Regions from separate parts of the Homo sapiens genome. Here region 1 is linked to region 2. The links are contacts of gene promoters, found by promoter capture Hi-C in human tissues and cell types (Jung and others, 2019). All regions are on one chromosome and are shown on one strand. The core of a region is centred on a gene start or on the middle of the fragment in contact, and the rest is flanking DNA. Distances in the headings are between cores, read along the strand shown. Region 1 has its middle 23 kb from the start of NCOA1. Region 2 holds the start of DNAJC27 (DnaJ heat shock protein family (Hsp40) member C27).

Region 1 (4,375 bases), core at 497-2,996, 500 kb after region 2:
CATCACCAAAATTTATAGCTATACATCACTTATTCCCCTGAAGGTAGTCCCCTGGCTACAAGCACCCTTGAATTTGAGACAGATGGCATAAATACTACATCACCTTGGTACTTAGGGCAGGGTCTGCAAATTCAGTTAATAGACAGTCTTGGATATAGGGCCTGCAGGGATTGCATTTTCCAGAACAGGAAATAGAAAACTGATATGGGCCACAAGGGAGTGATACCATGAGAGCAGCATCTTCACACATTATTTTTCCAATTATCCACAGATATTTGCTATTCAAGTGGGGCATGGGAATTACTAAGGTAATTACTAGCTGTCCCAACAACTGCTATGTGGACCCTTCATTCCAAAAAAAGGGAAGAAGATATGAAAGAGAGAAAATATGCAAAATAAACAATATTCTAACCAATGCCTTTTGGATGAATTAGAGCAGAAAAGAACAGAAATGTGGAAAACAGGAGATGCTTGCAGTGACTCACAAATGAGCAGATGAGGGCCTGAACCAAGAAGGCAGTTGTTTAACTGCTTTGATAATGGCAAGTATGAGACATTGTAGAAGAAAAAATTAGGATAAGTTTTTGATGAGTTAGACATGGGACGTGCAAGAGAAAAAGGAACAGAAAGAATGATGAGGTTATTAGCTTGAGAAGCAGGGTAGTGCCTCTGAGCTTAAGGCATAGGACCGAGAGTGAGAAGACCTGTCCCTACCACTTTGAACAAGTGACTTAACCCCTCTTAGCCCACTCTTCTCATTTGTAAAGTGTCTCTGCTCACCACATAGTGGTTTTGTAAGGCACAAATAAGATGATGTGCAGGAAAGCTGCAATGTGCTGGACAAGTGAAAGGCAGTAATGTTCATCATCATCATCATCAGTAAGGAAGCTGGAAAGGGAATATAATGTGACTAAGAGTATGAGAAATTCAATTTTAAATATGCTAAGATGTTGGCTTAACATCAAAGTGAAGATAACAGAAAACTAGCTAACGTGGGGAATGACTTAAGGAGTTAATGAGTCAGGGCCATTATATACAACAACAACAACAACAACAAAATATGTTTCCATAAGAGGCCAAGTCTAATCTGTCATTGATGGGCATTTAGGTTGATTCCATGTCTTTGCTATTGTGAATAGTGCTGTAATGAACATACACATGCATGTGTCTTTATGGTAGAATAATTTGTATTCCTTTGGGTATATACCCAGTAATGGGATTGCTGGGTTGAATGGTAGTTCTGCTTTTAGCTCTTTGAGGAATTGCCACACTGCTTTCCACAACAGTTGAGCTACACTCTCACTAACAGTGTATGAACGTCCCATGGAATACTATGCAGCCATAAAAAAGAACAAGATCATGTCCTTTGTGGGAACATGGATGGAGCTGGAAGCCATTGTCCTTAGCAAACTAATGCAGGAACAGGAAACCAAATAGCAGATGTTCTTACTCAGAAGTGGGAGCTAAATGATGAGAACACATGGACATAAAGAGGGAAACAACAGACACTTGTGCCTACTTGAGGGTGGAGGGTGGGAAGAGAGAGGATCAGAAAAAATAACTATTGTGTACTAGGCTTAGTACCTGGGTGACAAAATAATCTATTTAACAAACCCCCATAACACAAGTTTACCTATATAACAAACCTGCACATGTCCCCTGAACCTAAAATAAAAGTTAAAAAAAAGGGGCCAAGTATTCTAATTTATTGAGCTGATTTGGGATATAAGGTCAACTGTGGAACTGAGGCATATAATCACTTGCATAGTAGAATAAGCATACGCAGCACACCTGAGCAATAGCGTTACTGGTATTTCTGTGCTATGAGAGCCTGGATGTGGCTGCCTTAACACTACAGACCCTTGACTGGAGCTTCATTCATCAATGTCCTTGGATGTCCACCTATGAAGTGCACAAAAAGAGCAAAAGCAAATTTGACTAAAATGGGAAGGGGAAATGGTGTAGGAGTAAACAGTAAAAAGGAAAAGAAAGCCAAGATAAATGTAAGAAAGTAAAAGGAGATGTTGAGTAAAGGATATTTGTCCATGGGATGCAACTATAAATAAACCAGGGAGAAAAAAGATTTTTATGTACTTAAGAATGGAAATCAATGAACTGGACTGAGTATTGTATCAAAACTGTAAGGCATATGATTGTGATGGAAGACACCTCACTTCCTTTTCCTGAGAGAAAGCCACAGGTAATCACCCTTTGTAAAATAAATCATTTTGTATATATGAAAAGAGAATTTGCTGTTTGAAGGAATCCCATGATGGTTCCTCATATAAAGTAAGAGTTCACTTCATAAAGCAAACAATCACTCCCATTTGTGAAATGGATGAATTGGTTGATTGCACAATTTATCACTTGTGTATAGACCTGTATTGTCATCTACTAGGACTCTGTAGATCAAAATAAAGATGACGTTGAACCTGAAGTTCAGCTAGAGATAACCCATTTTCTACCTTCTCTCCCAACTACCTCTTCTTGAGTAAGTTCCCTGGAGATGCCACACCACATCTCCCTCCAAAAGTAACCAAAAAATGAATGACTGAAGAAAGAGGGGGCCCCCGGCCTGGGGCCATCTGGTGCGAAATGTGAGCTAAGCAAGTTGCTTTCCCTCTCTCAGGACTTAGGACTGAGGAAAAAACAAAGCAGTGGTGGCTGAAGTCAAAAGGATTGCAAGTTGCCAACCAAAGTTCAAGAGACAAGAAACAATGATAATGCAGACGAAGCTGCCAATAGACAGGAAATGGATCTGTAGGAAGAAGCAGAATATAGGAGCTGTGAGATCAGGATCTAGGAGAAAAGATTAGAAAGTCACTCTTAGAAAGGGCTTTACTTTAAAAGCAGTTTAAGTAGAAGGCCAGCAAGAGAAGCCAGTTGCAAGGTATGTTGATGCACGGGTGGGTGGAGGTGACGAGAGAATATCACTGCTTGGGATTTCAAGAGACTGAGTGGAATGTGACCGATCCTGTATGGGAGGATGAAGTCTCAAGTATGTAGGGAAAATAGGACTTTGCTTCCCTGTGAGCCAGGTGAGCTAAGAACTGGACCTGCATTTAGAATGGGGGGTAAAATTGACCTGATAGAACTAAAAACCACATGATAAACTATTTATTAAACAAGCTTTTAATAGGTTGTTAGATTAATTTAAGTTAAAACAATGGAACCATGTACCTGCGACTTACCAACTTCATGTAGTATATCATCTAAGATTTCCACATGCTGTAGTAACCTGGTTTTGCAATCTCACTCAATTGTCCATGTAAGCAGGAATAAAAGAAAGAAATATAGCAGAGGCCCTAAAGAAAATAAAAAGAAAAGTAAGTCTGCACTCTTAAGGACATGGTCAACTGTTTGAAAAATGCTTCTTTTTTGATAAACTTAAAAATCTTACCCTCTCCCAAGATTCTGACACTATCACCTATCACCTCAGGGCAATGTTTTTCAAACTGTAGGTCATGAAATCAATTTGGATGGTCATGACCAGCATTTTTTAAAAAGAATAGTATGTACTGTTATTTTAAAAAAGATGTTTTGGTTGTTTTAATTACACACACACACACACACACACACACACACACACACACAATGTGTACTGAGTGAAGATGTAAAATGTATTTCTTACTGTGGTTCACAACAAAAAAGTTAGAAAAACATTTCCCTCTCCCTGGCCTCTCTATTGAGATTATTTTATTTTCTGCATATGTCCAGTTTTACTTTTTTCTTTTTTGAGACAGAGTCTTGCTCTGTCACTCAGGCTGGAGTGCAGTGGCTTGCTCATAGTCATTGCAGCCTCGACCTCCCAGGCTCAGGTAATCCTCTCATCTCAGCCTCCCTAGTAGCTGAAATTGTAGGTACACAACAGCATACCCGACTAACTTTTTTTTTTTTTTGAGAGGGAGTCTCACTCTGTCATCCAGGCTGGAGTGCAGTGGCACAATCTCAGCTCACTGCAACCTTGGCTTCCTGGGTTCAAGCGATTCTTCTGCCTCAGCCTCCTGCGTAGGGGGGATTACAGGTGCATGCCACCGTGCCCAGCTAATTTTTGTATTTTTAGTAGAGATGGGGTTTCACCATGTTGGCCAGGCTGGTCTCGAACTCCTGACCTTAAGTGATCCACCTATCTTGGCCTCCCAAAGTGCTAGGATCACAGGCTTGAGCCACTGCACCCTGCCCTGACTAGTTTTTTTGTTTCTAATTTTTTGCAGAGACAGAGTCTCACTTTATTGCCCAGGCTGTTTTACTTTCTTTAATTCACATGATGAAAACAAAATGTCTCATTTATTTTTCAAATATTAAAAAATATATTCTAGTCTGAACGCAGTGGAGGCTGAGGCAGGTGGATCACTTAAGGTCAGGAGTTCGAGAC
Region 2 (4,359 bases), core at 46-2,545:
CTGAGAAGTTAGCATGTGGATTCTTTTAAGCTTTAAAACTATCCAAATTCTAACCAGGACTTATATTTCATATTTGTAAATAATTTTAGAAGCTTCAGTGAATTAAGTTATATTATTTGATTATCAAAACAATCCAGAATAAACTTGTCTTAAAAAAAACTTAATGTTTAAAAAACACATTTTAAAATTAAAATGTGGAAAATCTGACTTTACTGTGAAATGTTGAGCCTTTGCTCATTGCCTTCCTGTAATGCACTTCCCTTAAGATGTTTAAAGTTAGGTGAGAAAAGAAGCAATGCTACTTTTGTCTTTGTAATATACAGGGAAATTGGCAGCCATTTTTTTTCAGGGCACTATAAATAATCATTGTCAAGTTCTATTTATCTTCTGTAACTGAAGATATTCACTGAAAAAAAATTACCGTTCCTGTCAGACTGACTTTTATTCAAGCACTGTCACATTGTCAGCTAAAGGGAAGGGGAGAGCAGACGTCGAGGTCACGTTCGAAGCGAACAGCGGGGAGCTGAGGAAACTGACGTCCACAGCTCCAGCCTGGCTTAGCGTTAACACCTGCAGTAGACCAAGCCTTTCTCCCACAGAGGAGTCAACAAATCCATCAGAGATCTGTAATAGGAGGGCCAAGACTAAACACTCTTGCCTTGACTCCAAATAGACAACTCCATTTAAAATAAAAAACAATAGGAACCAGATTCAGAATCGCTTCACGCCTTGCCCAAGGCCCTCTTCCAGAACCAGGGTTCCGACCTCCCCACTTTCCTGGCTTTGGGGTCTGCCTCTCGGGGATCTCGAGCAAGGGGAACAAAATATTGGAGGGGGAAGAGGAGCAGCAGCCCGGCCCATGGAACCGAAAAAGAATCCAGAAAAAAAAAAAAACACTCCCAAACGGACGAGACACTACCAGACCCGCCCTGAAGAGCCAATACATTTCCACCACTCGGCTGCGAAAGCAACAAACGCCTCCCGTCCGGGCGTCCCTGAAAACAAGGACGCGCTCACCTCGAAGGGTAAACCCAGCCGCCCCCCAACGCCGCCTTCCCGTCAGGGGACGAGGCCTTAGAAACTCGGTAACTGCAGTCGCGTCTCCAGGGCCTGCAGATGACGTCAGCAGCCCCGCGCTAGCATCGCGAGACTCCCGTCTCCCTCCCCCGGCTCCCCACGCTCCCAACCGCCCGCGCCTGCTGCCAGGCAGCGGCGGGGATGGCGAGCAGCGGAGGCGAGGCGGTGACGAGAGCAGCGGCTCCGCCATTGGACGAGGAGGCCTGAGGGACGGGCCAGCGGTGCACAAGAAGAGACCGAGGCGGGTGGCCCCGAGAGAGCCAGGGCCATGGAGGCCAACATGCCGAAGCGGAAGGAGCCCGGCAGGTCTCTCCGCATCAAAGTCATCTCCATGGGCAACGCCGAAGTGGGGAAAGTGAGTACAGCGAGCCGGGAGGGGCGGGCCCCAGCGTGGCGGGGCGACGTGTCCATTGGCTGGAAGGGCGGCCACTCAACAGCCTGGGGCCCGGCCTCCTCTCCGCCCCCGAGCAGGCCCGGGTCTCAGCCGAGGGGTGCGGCTCCGCGAACGAAACTCCCCGACCTTTTTGACCTTTCCGTTGCCCCCTCGTCCTCCGACGTCACTCTTCCGGAGATGGTGTCTGGGGTGGCCTCTAAGCCTTGAATGTACCCCCAAAAGAGTAAGAAGGCCTGGGTCCCCATGAGGGGCCGTCGGCCTAGATACCTTGCCCGCGTTCTAGGGGGCCGTCCGGGACCGGGAGATGGAGGATGAAAGTTTAGTTCCCCCAGCCGGGCCTGGGAGCCGGCGGAACGTTATGGGGTGCGTGTGAGAATTTGGGGTTCGCGAAATGGTGCCCGGCAGCCCAGATTCTGCATTCCCGTCACGAGAGAGCGTAACTGACGTTGACGTGTTTCACAGGGGAGGTGCAAGGGATGGCCGGGGTCCGCGCTGTTTTGTTTTGCGTTGTGTTTTATTTTTGGTGGTGTCCCCATATCTGTTAGTTCCACCGCCCTTCTCTCTGCCCCATCTGTGGTTCATCAGCTATAAACTCTCCTTTAGTACGTGGGGAGGGAAGGCCAGAGGTAACCTGAGGCCTTTTCCCTTATGAATTCCAAGACGGCCTCCTCTTCACTCAAATTCTTTCCTTTTGGGCAAGTGGAATCTGTTGGTTAAGAACTTCCCAAGGTCATCAAATCAGTGACCGAGGAAAGATTAGAACCTAAGTCTTCACATTCCCACTGCGGTGCTCTTTCCGTCGTTGTATGCGTTCAAAATCAACTCCGAAAGAGCTGTTAAGGCAGTGCCTAGTCCAGTGCCTGGCACCCAGGAGATGCTCAGTAAATGTTTACTTAGTGTTTTTTATTTCTGTGTAGCATGATCCCGTACTACTTTTGTGTGTATGTGCTAGCATAGTATTCACTGAAAGTCAACATTTTTTTGAACGTCAGCTGTGTACGAGGTGTTTTTTTTTTTCTAGGGACTGGGCACGCTAGCTCAGGCCTGTAATACATCAGCACTTTGGGAGGACGAGGCGGGCGGATCACTTGAGGTCAGGAGTTCAAGACCAGCATAGTGAAATCCTGTCTCTACTAAAAATGCAAAATTAGCCAGGCATGGTGGTGCACGCCTTTAATCCCAGCTACTTGGGAGGCCGAGGCGGGAGAATCGCTTAAGCCGGGGAGGCAGAGGCTGCAGTGAGCCGAGATCACGCCATTGCACTCCAGCCTGGGCGGCAGAGTGAGACGCCGTCTCAAAAAAAAAAAAAAAAAAAAAAGTAATTTTACTGTGCCTAATGATACAACATTAGAAGCAGCTCAGAATGCCCAGTGTCACCACATCTACTTAACATTTTTCTAGTTTTATTAGCCAGTGCAATTAGACAAGAGTAAGAGAATATAAAAATATTAGAAAAGAGAAGGTAAAATTAACATTATTTGCTAATAATACGATTGTTTACCTGGAAACCCAAAGAGAAATAACTGAAAAACTATTAGAAACATTATAAAAATTCAATAAAGCAAAATTATTACCCACAAATTAATAACTTTATTGTGTCCAAATTATATTCAGTTGGAATGTGTAATTGAAAAACAATTTTAATTTACAGTTACAACAAAAATAAAGTTCCTAGGTTTAAACTTAACATGAAATAGGCAGCACCTATATGAAGACAAGTTTCAAACTCTACAAAGGGAGATAAATTACTTAGGCAAATGGAAAGATATACTTTTTCCTTACGTGGGATTACACAATATTGTACAGATGTGAATTACTCAACCTACAAATGAAATTCAATTCCAGTGAAAACATCAATAAGGGTTTTTTTTTCCCAGAACATAATACAAGACTACTAAAGTCTTCATGAAAAATTAATGTGAAAACAACAAAGAAAATTGTGGGGAAAAAAAAGAAATGAAAGAAGACCAACTGTATCAGCCATTTAAAAATATTTTTCAGGCCGGGCGCAGTGGCTCACGCCTGTAATTCTAGCACTTTGGGAGGCAGAGGCAGGTGGATTGCCTGAGCTCAGGAGTTCGAGACCAGCCTGGGCAACATGGTGAAACCCCATCTCTACTAAAATACAAAAAATTAGCCAGGCATGGTGGCGCACGCTTGTAGTCCCAGCTACTCAGGAAGCTGAGGCAGGAGAATTGCCTTGAACCTGGGAGGTGGAGGTTGCAGTAAGCCCAGATTGTGCCACTGCACTCCAGCCTAGGCGACAGAGTGAGACTCTAAAAAGAAAAAAAAAATTTTTTTTCACTGTGATGATGGTTTTTCAACGTTCACAGTTTCCACCAGAAAGATTTTCCTTAGTGTTCGGTAAACCTTCCTTGGATGTCTATGAGAGCTTTGCATGCATTCCCATGTTGGTTTCTGTGATGTATAAAAGTAGACCCCCATCTTACAAATAGGAAACTATGCCATGATACCTGAGCCTTGACATCATCACGTTCTCCAGTTTGTGTTTGGTATTGGAAGTTAAAACATGATTCCCTTTTCAAGTTTGGTTCTTGAGAGACTCACATGGTGTTGCTCAAGTACGTTTTGTGACAGGCAATAGCATCTTAAGAATTCTTAAGTCCAAGAAGGGACTTGCTCCTGATCTCCCTGAAGATCTCTACCATTTAATTAAGAAGTAGTTATTGTTCAAAAGCATCTTGAGATGAACAGAAAGGATAAGGATGGTAAATTCTGTCTGATTCTGATAGAGAGGTAGAGTCACCCTTTGGCTCAATATTGTAAGACCAAGCAAATCCTCCCTCCCAGTTGGAAGTGAGTAATCTACAGCCTCTGTCCTGGTCATATAAATTTGTCTATGTACTCAAGCAATAAAATGATTGTTT

The links. Contacts are between HindIII fragments. The study calls those that stand out against the background at their distance.
Region 1: a fragment that was not itself captured here is called in contact with the fragment with the promoter of DNAJC27 in region 2 in 1 of the 25 tissues and cell types used here (mesenchymal stem cells).

What each region holds. Positions count from the first base shown.
Region 1 is chr2:24,465,641-24,470,015 of GRCh38, reverse strand. No RefSeq gene overlaps it. Among named protein-coding and RNA genes, the nearest start is that of NCOA1, 23 kb to the left of the region's middle. The HindIII fragment of the contact is 6,412 bases long and covers 1-4,375 here.
Region 2 is chr2:24,968,891-24,973,249 of GRCh38, reverse strand. DNAJC27 (DnaJ heat shock protein family (Hsp40) member C27) reads left to right here and starts at 1,295. Exons shown (of 7, transcript NM_016544.3): 1 at 1,295-1,432. The coding sequence starts at 1,346. It overlaps DNAJC27-AS1 (DNAJC27 antisense RNA 1), which reads right to left and starts at 1,138. Exons shown (of 3, transcript NR_034113.1): 1 at 1,018-1,138. It also overlaps the pseudogene RPS13P5. RefSeq lists enhancers at 246-763, 975-1,054, 764-1,282, 1,265-1,374, 1,635-1,744 and 2 more and a silencer at 1,505-1,584. The HindIII fragment of the contact is 11,912 bases long and covers 1-4,359 here.